4 separate regions of the Homo sapiens genome follow, and all the other regions are linked to region 1. Evidence: promoter capture Hi-C in 16 types of primary human blood cells and fetal thymus (Javierre and others, 2016). All regions are on one chromosome and are shown on one strand. The core of a region is centred on a gene start or on the middle of the fragment in contact, and the rest is flanking DNA. Distances in the headings are between cores, read along the strand shown. Region 1 holds the start of PSIP1 (PC4 and SRSF1 interacting protein 1). Region 2 overlaps ZDHHC21 (zDHHC palmitoyltransferase 21). Region 3 has its middle 6.7 kb from the start of ZDHHC21. Region 4 holds the start of LOC105375980 (a long non-coding RNA gene).

The links. The method cuts DNA at HindIII sites, captures the fragments that hold promoters and counts their contacts. A CHiCAGO score of 5 or more calls a contact.
Region 2: a contact is called between a fragment that was not itself captured here and the fragment with the promoter of PSIP1 in region 1, in 1 of 17 cell types (total B cells). The highest score is 5.9, in total B cells.
Region 3: a fragment that was not itself captured here is called in contact with the fragment with the promoter of PSIP1 in region 1 in 1 of 17 cell types (naive B cells); the score reaches 7.2 in naive B cells.
Region 4: a fragment that was not itself captured here is called in contact with the fragment with the promoter of PSIP1 in region 1 in 6 of 17 cell types (activated CD4 T cells, naive CD4 T cells, non-activated CD4 T cells and 3 more); the score reaches 13.8 in activated CD4 T cells.

Annotation. Positions count from the first base shown.
Region 1 is chr9:15,509,180-15,512,592 of GRCh38, forward strand. PSIP1 (PC4 and SRSF1 interacting protein 1) reads right to left here and starts at 1,791. Exons shown (of 16, transcript NM_033222.5): 1 at 1,638-1,791; 2 at 938-1,150. The coding sequence starts at 1,009. RefSeq lists enhancers at 904-1,857, 1,858-2,810 and silencers at 917-1,116, 1,217-1,266, 1,397-1,456, 1,467-1,676, 1,697-1,776. The HindIII fragment of the contact is 3,241 bases long and covers 1-3,032 here.
Region 2 is chr9:14,673,678-14,677,090 of GRCh38, forward strand. ZDHHC21 (zDHHC palmitoyltransferase 21) reads right to left here. Exons shown (of 10, transcript NM_178566.6): 4 at 510-708. The coding sequence starts at 663. Among named protein-coding and RNA genes, the nearest start is that of ZDHHC21, 18 kb to the right of the region's middle. The HindIII fragment of the contact is 1,359 bases long and covers 929-2,287 here.
Region 3 is chr9:14,698,401-14,701,813 of GRCh38, forward strand. No RefSeq gene overlaps it. Among named protein-coding and RNA genes, the nearest start is that of ZDHHC21, 6.7 kb to the left of the region's middle. The HindIII fragment of the contact is 291 bases long and covers 1,703-1,993 here.
Region 4 is chr9:14,991,217-14,994,629 of GRCh38, forward strand. It overlaps LOC105375980 (a long non-coding RNA gene), which reads right to left and starts at 1,979. Exons shown (of 5, transcript XR_929491.3): 1 at 1,933-1,979; 2 at 1,313-1,538. It also overlaps the pseudogene LOC389705. The HindIII fragment of the contact is 1,293 bases long and covers 984-2,276 here.

The DNA.
Region 1 (3,413 bases), core at 541-3,040:
GTAAATTAGTCGAAAATAAATGGCTTGGAAAAATAAAACTTCAGAACCCCATGTAAGTATATTTTTAAAGGATCTTGAGTTTACCTAATCTAATTGATTGCAACATATCTTAGGTCCTATCTATCTCTGTTTGAGAGCCTGGGTACCACCATAAACAAAAAGAACCCTTTTTCTAAAAATGGAGCGTAGATCTTTAAACAGTCTCAATTCCTCAATGTCACAAAACATCCTGGGTCCTTAATCATTTCTCTGTACCACTAGATGTGAACTGAGGAATCTGGTCCACACCTCCTTTTTGCCTATTGGAAACAAAAAGGTAAAACAACTTCTTCAAGGTCATAAACATCTCAAATAAAAAAGGAGAAATGAATTTTCTGGCCCTTCCTCGGTACTAAACTACTGTAATACTTTCAAGAATATCCAGTCCTGAATCTGTATTAAACAAGCAAATCCAGAAGGCCTCATCAAGTACAAGGTATTTTTTTTAAAACCCTGTAAATCCAATTTAATCACATACGCACTTCTCTGACATCCAAGTGTTTGTGTGTAATCTGCACAAATTCCATTGATATTTTGTACTTGATCCAAAACTATGGAAATGTCAATGTTTCACTAATTTTTAAACAAAAATTCACTCTTCATTATTTCACCTACAATGGAATATTAACTAGCAACGCATTTAAATATTTCCTAGGAAGAAAATCTGTCCAAGTCTGCCAATAAACCATAGGGAAATACACAGGTATGTAGAAACGTCTGGATTTTCATAATTACACGGGAGATTATTGGGCAAAAAACTAAAATGAAAGGTCAGGTTACAAATGAGACTAAAGCGAGGGAGAGAAAGGACAGAAGAAAAAATAAAGAGACACGGTGGGCAGCAGGCCTCTGGAGAGGAGGGTAGCACTGCTAAGCGCGAGGGCTACAAATCACTTACTCGAGCTGGCCAATGGGGATAACCTTTCATCTTGGCGAAGATGAGGTCTCCAGGTTTGAAATCGCGAGTCATGTTTCGGGGGCGAGACCGGGGGTCCGAAGCCCGGGAGGCGGCGAGGAGATGCGGCGGCGCGGGGATGCGGGCGGCGGACGCGGGCCCAGCTACCGGGCCCGCGGGCGGGGGAGGATGCCTCGGGGCGTCCCGACGCGCCTGCTAGGGAGAGCACCGAGGGCGGTTAAAGCGAAGAACCCCGAAGGGAGGGGCCGCAAGGGGAGGGGGAGGGGAACCGGCGGGTGGGGGTGGGAGAGCGAGGGGACGGCCGCCTCCCGCTCCTCCCCCGCCAGTGCGCTGCCTCCGCGCTGGAGCAGGTCCTCCACCCCGCCACCGAAGAGACGCCACCACCTGAAGCAGGGATGCTGCCCGGCCAGAAATCGCCCGTCTGCCCGCCCCATCTTTCTCCGGGCTTTTTCCACCGAGCTTAAGCCCCAAAAGGGAGGGGGTGCATGGGAGAGAAAAAGGCAGGGATTCCGAGAAGCGAGCGGCCCCCTTCCGCCCACGCAAGGCCTCCCCCGCAACCTGCTGCCCAGCGGCTGCAGCCTCGGCCCCCTCGGCTCCCGGGCGGGCCGCGTCCACTTCCCCGCTACAGCCAGGAGCGACGCCACCGAGGGGGGGGCGGGGCGAGTCCCCGTCGCCCGCTCACCTGCCGGGGCCGCGGGCGCCGACGCTGCGGTTGCTGGCCGGTCGCCTCTACCCGCGTCCACGCAAGCCACCTGCGCCACCAGCTGCCGCAGAGGCGTCTCAACGGCTCGGAATCGCAACCGCGCCGCCGCTGCCGCCGCCGTAGCTGCGCTGCTCCCGCGCGGCTCCCGCTCGGCGCCCGCTAGCACTGGGGCGCGACCAACTGTTTACCGAGAGAGGGGGGATGTTGCAGCACCCGGCGAAGCTGTGTGGCTCCGAAGCGGATTTTCTGGAAACCCTACGTCCCCAAGTTCGCTTTCATGTAACAGGTGCATGCAGATGGAGAGGAAGACGCAAGCGAAGAAGAAAGGACTGGGCGAAAATAGCTCGGCCTGCCGCAAGTTCCCCCTGCGGTTTGCGGAGTGGTCGGGCCCGGCCCGCCCCTGCTGGCTTCTCTGCGTGTGTGTATTTGTATGTGTACTGTATGTAAAAGGCGGGGAGGGAGGAAATGATTGTTGTGGACGCGGTTTTGGGGGCGGGTATCCGGGCCTCTCTCCCTTGGCTGCGTGTTAGGGAGAAAGTGGCAGTAAAGATTCATGTTCTTGTATCGTTTCCAGGGTGGGGAGGTTTGAATGCTGCTTTTGCGCGGTTTGCATCATCCAAAAAAGAGGAGCTGTACGAAAACCCTAAGATGAAATTGGAGCATGCGGCGGTTGCAGGGTGTGCTGCATCTAGGCCTCTTGCACCTCGCTGAATGGGCCTCGTAGTCTCCTTTTCCTTGAAATTGTAGTATGAGAGAGCCCTATTTCATTTCTTTTGCATTTGCATCACCAAGAACTATTAAGAAAAATGCAACCCTACTGAATGCAAAATGCGAAGGGTAGAAAACAATGACAGGAAAACAGAAACCTTTTAGATAGGATGTGAGTTTGGGCCCTAACTAAATTTTAGCTGCATCTAAATTTTATTTCCCTAGTAGAATAGGAGCTGGTAGGTGGTACAATGTGTAAGTGTTACTAAACCTCAAATATTTTCTCTCTTAAAATGCTCTTCAAGGGATTTTAAAGGTTAATTTTTTGATCCTTTAGAGAGGCTGAAAATATTTTTAAAAAGAATGTTAAGACATATAAAAATAAGAATAATAAGACATATATTAGCACCTAGATAATACTGTTTTAAATACGGGACTCAACTGGAAATGAATTAGGAAATTTTTTTTGAATTGGTAAAAATTGAGAATTTTTTGAAAGCGATACAGCATGTCTTTAAAAAGGAATGAAAGAAGACAGTCCCAAAGTAAAATGTCCTGTAAGGAGTTTCGAGAAACTAAGTATACCTGGGCAATATGCAGAGAGTTCCAAGTGGAGCAAAAAGAGAAATTGGCAGAGGAGAAGGAAGGGTTGGTGAAATGTCTTGAAGCTTCTCATTCTGAATATGAATTTAATGTGTGTAGTAGGAAGCTACTATAGGTTGCTCAGCAAGAAGGGGGTAAAAATGATTATTTAACCAGTTCTTGATGTTTCAAGGTAGATGTTAGTAGAAAGAGGCTGGGGGTAACTGGAGTACTCATGAAATGACGCATTTCTCAGTGAGAATGGTGACTAAGAAAAGGGAAGGAAGAGCACAACTAAGTAATTACACAAAGGAATGATTGTCAGGTGTTGGCTATAAATTATGCATAGGAAAAGGTGGAAAAAGATGTATTGAAGAAAAGCTCAAGATACAGAGTAAGAGAGACCAAAGCAGCATCCAGCAATCATTTTTTTGTGTGTATGCACTTTATTTGTTCTAAACCCTG
Region 2 (3,413 bases), core at 358-2,857, 840 kb before region 1:
TGTAAATGCCATGTACATGTAAAATATATAATTTCAATTTATTTTAATCATAAGCAAGCCATCACCAATTGACTAATAACTATCCAGAAGTTCCAAGTGTTATCATAATCAACTTCGTAATCAATACTTTTCTTATGAAATTCTCACTTCTCAGTAATGTATACTGTCTCTATTCTTAAAACATCTACATTTGTAATTAGGTACAAAACAGCAATAATAAAAATACAGAGAGACATGCAAGTTATCACTACTGTGTCAGTTTTCTATTTTTAACAAAATGGTCTTCATGCACTTTGCAGTTAAAAATGGAGATATCACTTTTATCTAACTGCAAATCTATAAAGGCCATTATTTCCATAAGTTCATAAATTAGTAAATAACTGAATATTGACAGCACTGCTAAAATACTAAATATATTAAAAGGAAAGTTATCATAGTGGCACTACACCCCAAAAACGTTTACAATGAGAAAAATAATTATACAAGAAAATAAAGATCAAGAAACTTACTTATTATTAATATGCCTGGAATATGTCCTTCTTCATAGTGAGGAAAGAGGACAATTTTGGGAATTAAAACAATATTGTATAACCAAACAAAGACAATCAAACCCATGCAGCACCAACCATGTGGGTCAACAACAAAGTGAATCCGGAGACCCATTTTGCAATCTTATAACTGCCTGCTAACCCACAAGGAAGGATGATCCTAAGGAGAAGGAACAAAGAAAATAATTACTTACATAGAAAAATTTGACTAAAACCTGTATTTCTGGCAACTTTTATAAAATGACATTGAGTTTTCTTTGCATATTTGACATTTTCTTTCTGTAGTTGATATATTTATTGATATTTCTTTGTATATATATTTTTACAATAAATACTTGGGAAAACAAACAGAAGTTTCAGGATATTCAAATTTTATCATAAGCTTCAAATAATTTCAATGTTTCACTATGAACTGCTATCACAGGTATAAACTGGAATCATCTACTGAATTTAAAACACAAGTTTGTCCTTAACCCAGCAACTTCCTGTGTAAACCCAAAAGAAATGAATACACGTGTCCACCAAAAGATTATGTACAAAAATTTTTAGTAGCTTTAATCAGAAGACTGATGGGTCACACAAGTCAAAACAGTGGTTACCTTGTGGTTGCAGGGGTGTATATTAACTGAAAAGGAACATGAGAGAACGAGGGGTTGGGAAACGTTCCATATCTTGACCTGGGTGGTACTTTATGTGTATCTACATATGTAAACATTCACTGAGCTGTATACTTCAGATTTGTGCACTCTAGTTTAATTTTAAACTACAATAAAACATTTTTTAAGTATTTTGAAAAATGACAATAAAAAGTGAAAACTAATTACAAATTGCCAAAAATACTAAAATTCATAGAATGAAGCCCAACAAATCTCATTATGATCAACTGAAGAAGACTCCTGTTTAAATGAGGCTTTTTTTAGTTGAGTGTTAACAATATGCCAACAGATCTCTCAATGAGACACTTAAGGACTTAAAATACTTCTATATAAATATGGTACCAAAAAAGTGACTAAAAATACATCCATACTTTGGTAGATATAACTTCCAAGGATGAAATAATAAATTGCTGTATAAAGTCTAGGGGGTACCTTTTACGTAAAATACAATGGTATAATAATAAACTAGGACAACGGTTCTCTAGCCTGTAAGAAAACCAAAAACACCTGGGGAGCTTTTTAAAAATACATATTCCCAGACCCCATTCTACATCTACTGAATCATAATTCTTCATAAAACTCAAAAAACAATAAAATGTTGTAAAATGCTCTGCAAGAGTCTGAAAACAGCTGACTGGTGTCTAGGAAGCACTGACCCATGAGCTTCACTAACACTTCAATGTTACCACAATGAGTTGAACTCACTTAGTTCAACAAATATTCACTGAGCCTCCACTACACACCTATCACTTGCTAGACACTGCAGATACAATGATGAAGAAGACATGGTCTTTGCTTAAAGGAACAGTCTAATGGGAAAAAGAATCAGAAAAAAGATTTAATATAATATGGTAAGTTCCAGATTTGAAAACAAAATGTTAGTAGGGGCACAGAAGATGGGACCAGTTAAACGAGGAATCAAGTAAGACTTACTGTAAGAAGTGAAACCTGAATTCAGTCTTAGAAGGTTAGTAAAAGTTATCTAAGCAATGAAAAGTGACAAGAATACTGCAAACAGAAGGAATAGGAGGAGCAAGAGTAGAAATTGTGGGAGGTATTACAACCTGCCATCACAAATCATAAAGCTTTCTGTGGAGAGTGAGTGCTAAGAAATATGGGCCTATATCATGAAGGACATAAAGATGCCATGTTAGAATGCTAAGACTGAATTCTTCGGCAATGGAAAGCTATTGAAGCAGGGGATTAACATGACGAAATGTGTACCGTGAATAAATTACTGAAGCTCTGGTGTGAATGATAAAATTAAAGACAGAGGTCCATTAGGCTAAGAGAAGGCAAAAGCCAAAATTAGGTTTGCAGAAAGGAGCAACTGCTAGAATCGAACCAGTGTGTTTTTCTGGTTGATTAGATATTAGGGGTTACAGGGGAAAGTGTCAAGGGTGATTCCCAGATTTTCAGCCTATATCCCAGTCTACTTCATTCTAAGAACAATTCATAATCAATTGAAAAGCCTCAGGGCACCATCCCTTAGAGGCCTTGCCCATGTTCTTCAAAGCTATAAAGCTACTGAAACAAAGAAAAAGAGATTAAGGAATACTTGATTTTAAAGGAATACCCCCAGTTTCTCATCCCTAGTTCCTGCAAATATTGGGGCAGCAGAAAAAAAACAAAAAACAAAACAAAAAAAGAACTCAAATGTAATACCACTTAATAGTTTAAATCCGGTATGTTCTAACTTGTGTATGAATTCTAAAACAGAAATAGTGCCCAGGCCACTAAACTAATAAAAGTTTCATTTATTTATCTTTTAATTTAAAAATCAAAAGACAGATTGGTATCATTAAAATGAAGAAAGTCAGACAGGATAAAGCATGCTATTTAATTTGCTAAGAATCATTTTAATAAAGGAATCTCAAATACAAATGGTAAGCTATCTACACAGTTAAAAAGAGAAACATTCAAGACAATGTTAATTTTTTAGTCTTGCCAATTATCAAGTGCTAAAAGAAATGACAAGTGCTCTCTCAACGTGTTCAATATTATTAATTTTATGTACCTTTCTTTCTTTAATTTTTCAGTTCTATTCAGGACTAAAAACAGAACATGAATTTCACTAAGTATATATGAGAGTAGCTTAAATTTATTAACATTAGAAGCAGAAAAGTACATGAGCCAGCAAAACGACTGGCAAAATTATCAAATATTAATTTTTGAACTCTATTTTTATTCTCCTCTACTAGAGAACAAA
Region 3 (3,413 bases), core at 598-3,097, 810 kb before region 1:
GAGAAAGAAATGATTCAAGAATCTCCTATGTTTCAACTACTTCCAAGTCAATATATCCAGCCCTGCACTCTATTGGGCTCCAGAGCCATAAATTCTAGAAGCCCCACTACACACTTGTTATGATGGCTCAAATGGGTGCGAAGTCTGTAGGACCAGTCATGAAAAATAAGAGAGTACTGCTGTTCTCACACATATCAGGTTAAGGTTCTGTGTCTCCCTTCCTCTAAGAGACTACTTCTTGTTTGTTTGCAAGGAAAATAAAAAATATCTACTAATCTCTTGGATAGTGCCCCTTTTATTTTTAATCTCTTTGCCCCTCAAATATATATATATATATGTCTTCATTAATAACTTAGCGAGAAAGTTGTCACTTTGTACCCCAGATAAAGCAAAGGAAGTTGTAAATGGTTTTATCATTGGCCCACAATTTCTGCCACAGGAAGACTAAATGATTAAAAAAAAAAAATCAGAAGTTTCTGCCTTGACTGGGAAGTTATCAGGGACATCTCTGCAGAGATTTGGCTATAAGAACAAAGGTCATACATCTATCCTTGTTCACTCCCATACATGAAGGGAGAAATGACAAATTGGGGGTCTAGCGCACTTTGCATGCATTCTTTAAAGGATCAGATATAGTTTTGTTTGTTTGTTTGTTTGTTTTTGAGATGGAGTCTCTGTTGCCCAGGCTGGAGTGCAGTGGCATGATCTCAGCTCACTGCAACCTCCATCTACCAGGTTCAAGTGATTCTCCTGCCTCAGCTTCCCGAGTAGCTGGGACTGCAGGCGTGCACCACCATGCCTGGCTAATTTTTGTATTTTCTGTAGAGACAGGGTTTCACCATGTTGGCCAGGCTGGTCTTGAACTCCTGACCTCAGGTGATCCACCTGCCTCGGCCTCCCAACATGCTGGGATTATAGGCATGAGCCACCATGCCCGGCCAGATACAGCTTTAGCTTTGTGGTCTAGTCTTTGTTGCAATTATTCAGTTCTGTCATTGGATTGCCAAGTCGCCATAGACAATATGTAAATGAATGGACATGGCCATGCAACAATAACATTTTATTTACAAAAACGAGCAGCAGCCCATATTTGGTCCCCATGAATCAGAGTTTGTGAATTCCTGCTTTGTGAATGATTGGAAACTCTTCGCCTCAGAATGGAGGAGGATATAGTGGAGGGAGATTGCCTGGTTTTGTTCCCTGATTCTAACACTACTAAGTATGTGTTACTTAATTACTGATGCCTTCGTTTCCTCATCTGTAAAAAATGGATAATAATAGTCATCATATTAGATTGTATGAAGATCAAAGGAATCAATATATGTCAAGCACTTAAACCTGAATCTGGCATGAGAAATGACTCAGTAACTATTATGACAATTACCTTCAGGTGGAAGGCTGAAGCCAGTGGTGGGTAACATCTAAATATGATTTGCACATTGCTTTGGATAAGAAATAAGAGTATACAAAGGCCTTTCACTGGCTTTTATCTCTTGCTGTCCCACAAATTTTTACCTCATTGGCATTTTAAAAATCAAAAGAGCCCTATTCCAAAGCAAAGAGAAAATCCCAGTTATGGCAGGTCCCAGAAGAATGTTTCCACAAACCTTCAGACTCAACGTGTTCAAAAACAAATCTTTCATTACCACCCCAGCTCTATTTCTCCCCCTAGTATTGCAATTTCAGAAACATCTGTTGTCTAAGCTTGAAAACTAAGAAGTTCTGTCTCCTCCCTCTCAATCCATTCACACCCAGTCACCAAACTCGATCAATTTCACTTCCACAAGATCCTTCGAAGCCATTCATTTCTTTGCATTCCTACAGCACTGAGTTCAGGTTGTCATTATTTTTCACCTGTACTACAGCAGTAGTCATCCTATCCCTAATCTTGCCCCCAACCCATCTGTTTTGCACAATATCACTCATGAACTCTTTCATAAAAGCAAACCTAACCACTCTCATCACTCTACCCATGTCTTTATTGTAAAATGAAAGCTTAGCGTGGCATAAAAGTTCCTTAACAATCTGACCTCTTCAGTCTCATCTCTGCTGCCATCTCTCAACTCCTTCCTCTGCTTTTCCTTCCAGTGTATGTTACAGTAGCACTAAACTGCTTGCTGGCCCATCATTTTCCCTGCCTTCTCAGCTGCTAACTCTGCACTCCTCTTTCAGATCTCTGGTAGTCTCTTACTGCTGAACAACCAGACTAACTTAGGCACCTTCTATTGGGCTTCCACAGGATTCTCTTGACTCATCTATCACAGATCTTACCATGCTGTAATGATCTGTTTGCTTATAAATATTCCCCAGAAGACAGTGAGCTCCAGGAAAGAACATATCCAGTCTTATTTGTGTTTGTCTTTCCGTTGCTTCCCACAACTCTATATCCATTATAGGTGTCCAGTAGTTTGGTTGAATTAATATACAATGAAACTAAAAAGTACAAAGGAAGAATGAGAGTGATTGGCAGGCCCTTGGAGGAGGGATCTATATCTGGTCTTTGATACCAAAGGGTTTGCAAAAGTCCAGGGAGGGGAGGAAATTGGTGGAGGACAGGCAGGGATCTGAAAGTCTGAAGAAAGGTTGAACATAAGGCATGAGAAAAGACCATTAGATTTAGTGAGCAGGATTTTCCTGGAAAACTCAAGAGTAGATTTTTAATAACTAGGTAATTAAACTGAGAAGAGAGATTATTTAGAAATAGAGACAGTAGGCATAGCTGGTTTTGAAATGAGTTAATGGATTGTCTCCTGTTTGTGTTTTAGGATGAGGAAGCATGAGTTATCTCTAAGATAAGATCATAAAAAGAGAAGAAAGACAAGTTAGAATTAAGAGTTAAAGTATGGGGCAAGAGCACCAGTAGAATCAAGAGTCCAGATAAGAGGATTCTCTTTGCTAGGAGAATAGCTACTTAATCTTCAAAGTCAGAAGCAAAAGAAGAGCCAGAGAGTACCCAAGTGGGAGATTTTGAAAGAGTGAAGAGGAAAGCTGAGAGCTTCAATCTAATGGCTACCCTCAGCTACATGTGGACACAGAATGGGAAGTGCTGAGCTCTCAGAAAGTCAAAGGAAAGAGGAGAGTGCTGAGCTCTGGGAAAGGAGATGAAAAGGCAGAAGGAGACAGTACTTCTTCACTTTGCTCAGGTGAAGAGAATGTTGAATACAGAAATGAATCTCCAAGTCCTTCAAGGAAAATCCTGGTACCAAAAGTAACAAAAGAAATACTTTCTGTTATATCTTATGGCTCCAAAACACTTTATAGAATTAACTTTTGTTGGTTTACAAATATACTATAATAATTCAACATACCTGCTTTGAGTTCATTGTACCTACACCTAATAAATGGGAAAATTTAGGCCACCTGGAATTTCACCTTTTGACACATCGTGGGAAGCCTCAGCCTTAGGTGATAAA
Region 4 (3,413 bases), core at 380-2,879, 520 kb before region 1:
GATTGTGGGGCTTCTCAACCCCCATAATCACATGAGCTAATAGATAGATAGAGATATAGGTATAGATATAGATATCTATTCATTCTCTGTTTCTCTGGAGAACCCCAACTAACACAGGGCATCAGTGCATATAATGAAATTACTAAGTCTCCCAAACTCTTTCCCGCATTGGGCTCCAAGAAGGCTATATATTCTCAAAGCAAGTAATTAGAAGATTACTCTCTAGAAGAAAATAAACAGCTGGTCCTTGCCCCACCATCTTACACCTTGTCCCACCATCTTACACCTTGCCCCACCATCTTACACCTTGCCCCACCATCTTACACCTTGTCCAGCAGTGAACAAGCCTTGCCTATGTCCCCAAAGCACCTTTTTAGAGCATCACTTTTACATATAAATTGACAGCAGGGATCACTACACAAGATGAAGAACGCCTCTAGCAGAAACGACAGGGACCAAATATAAACAAACAAACAACCAAAAAAAACTCAAAGAATCAAAATCAATGCAGAGTTATGTAGAAAGTATTTTAAAACTCCTATAATTTACATCTTCAGAGAGTAAAGGAGGTATATTCATGAAACAATAATGTAATGCTATAAAAGAACAGAGAATAAAAAGGGCACTTAGAAATGAAGGTATAATAAAAGAAATAAAGTAATCTGATAATCATTTGTCCAATTAAGTTGAAAAAGTCACAGAGAAAGTAGAATAAAAAGATGAAGGGATAGAAAATAGGACAGACAGGTAAGAAAAAACATCAGCCAAGAAGGTCCACGATCTAAATAACAAATTTCAAAAAATAAGAGATAAAATAAGAGAGGGCGGAAAGAAACGATCAAATAAATAATACCAGGAGAATCCCCATAACGGAAGAACATGTGTTTCAGGATTGAAAAACTGATCAATAGGAATGAGAAAAGACCCATAAGAAAGACACTCGATTGTGTCTTAGAACGCTGGGTATAAAGAGAAGATCCTAAAGCTTCTTGAGACAAAACAAAACCGAAACCAAAGCGGGTTACATAACAAGAAATTTAGTGACCTGAGAAGGAGAAGGAAATGCAATGACGTAGAGTTTCTCAACAATTTTGGAAGCTAAAATATTGTGGAGCAAGCCCTCCAATATTCCGAGTGAAAGTTATTTTCAACCTAGAACTCAGCCAGAATAAAAACAGTTCCAGACCTGCACGCTCTGTGGGAAAAAAGACCTGGAAGCAACCTCCCTCAAGGAACTATTGGCGGATATGTTCCACAACATGAGGCTATATAATCAAGAAAAAGACACAGACTCAGGAAATAGGGAACTCACCTCAGGAATGAGGAATAAGACCTTCCCAGGATGGATGTGAAGGAGACCCAGGACATCAGTTGAGAGCTGTGCCTTCCAAATTTTGATGTGCATAGGAATTACCAGGGGATCTTGTTGCAATGCAGACACTGATTCAGTAAGTCTGGGTAGGGCTTGAGATTTCGCGTTTTTAACAAATTCCCTCAGGATGCTGAGGCTGCTGGTTCAGGGACTACACTTTGCATAACTGGGGTGTAGAGAAAAAATAGTCCGAACTGTACCAAGAAGACGATGGTACAGAGACAGAGACAGACAGACACTTATTTCCTTCTGGGAGATCATCGGGAATGAATTAGTGTAAGTCAATAACTGTATAGTAGGGGAGGGAGAGGGATGGAGGAGAGGGAGAAAAGGATTAATGTTTTAAGTAAACACAAATGAAGAAAAAACAAGGAAGGGGCTGTACTGAGGGCAGCCGCATACATCCAACCTTGCCTCTAGTAGACACCTGAAGAGGAAGGTTGGACCACCCTAACGGATTCAGATTCAGTAGTCTGGGGGGGTCTCTGGAGTGACCCTGGAAGATGCTCCAAAAAGCCTAGAAGCGGACCACAAGGACAGAAGACGCCCCTTCCCCATACCCAGCAAGGGAGTAAGCCGGGCCTCAAAGCGCCCGGCGCCAGGTCTCAGGGGGCGGGGCATGGGCGGAGCCTTTTCCCTAAATTGGCGCGCCCGAGCGGCGCTGGGATTCGCATTGGAGGCTTTTGAACCCGGAAGCAGTTGGCTGCTCTCGGAAGCGGCCGCGGATCCGGGAATTCGGCTGGCGCTGCAGCTGCAGAATGGTGGGCGGTGGCTGGAAGCGCAGGCCCGGCGCGGGGGCGGGGCCGCAGATACTGCCAGAAAGGCTGTGGGGGCTACGCAGGTGGCTTTGGATGACAGCCAGGGTACCAGGAGGCAGCGCGTTTCATTCATGCAGTGACTATTAAGCTTGCTGTGTGTCCGGGGTCTGCGGTTTGCTGCGGGGACCCTGCCCAGGTCGCTGTTTCGCGCTCTGTAGGGGATTGGACCAGGAAAGTAGCGCCTCTGCATTTTCTGCCCAGCTCCTCTTGGCGCATTTCCTGGGGAAACGGATTAAGCCAACCAACGTTTCATTCATTCGCCCACCCAGATAGATTGGGAACCGATTACATACCAGACATTGTGCGGGGCCCTGCGGATTTGGGGTCAACCCGCCTGCCCCTTCTCCATGTAGAGCCTCCGGCCTGGGGAGGAGGGGCACAAGCGAATATGCATTCTACTGTGACTTTTTTGTTTGGGATTATAATGCTGGTGTGTAGAAAGTGCTATGGAAACACTGAAGGAGGATTTAACAAGTCCCAGGGGGTGTTAAAGAAGACTTTTAAGACAACTCTTTGAAAATGGGTTTTGAAGGCAGAGAAGAGTCTGAGACGTAAAAGTGTAGGAGATGTTTGGGCATAGTGGAGCGTTCGGCTTGGCTGGAGCCAGAGAAATGGGAAAGTAAGAGGGACCTGATCATAAAAGCACTATGAGAGGGGAGGGGGGAAAAGTATGTGCATTATCTCATATTTTACTACGATTTCGGAAGTTCTGTAACCACTACAGTAGCAATAAGGGGAATCAGACAGGAAGGAAGTGCCATTGTGATAACTAAAGTTTTAGAAAACTTAGTCTGGCAGTGTTATAAATCGGATAGGGTGTGAGACATTCTTGGAGGGCTTAATTAACTAGTAAAGGGCCAGTTGTATAGGCATTCTTCATATTGGGTCATGCATTCTAGGAATACCAGGGTAAAGGAGAAATGCAGCCTCTGAAGGGGACAGCTGTCCTAAATTCTAGTTGTTAGGGATATGGAGATGCTGAACTAGTATGTGAGTTAAGGCAGAGCTGAAAAAATTCTCTTTGAAGGTTCAGTGAAGAACTGCTTTGGTGGCGTGAGGTGCTTAACTAGAAATACAATAGCAGAAATGAAGGCGAGTCTATAGAGGCTATAACCATAATGGCCGGCATTTGCATATTATGTGCTAGGACTGTTCTGTGTATTTTTACATATAATAACTTATTCCTTGTAACAACCCTATGATAGAGGTACTGTATGCCCTTT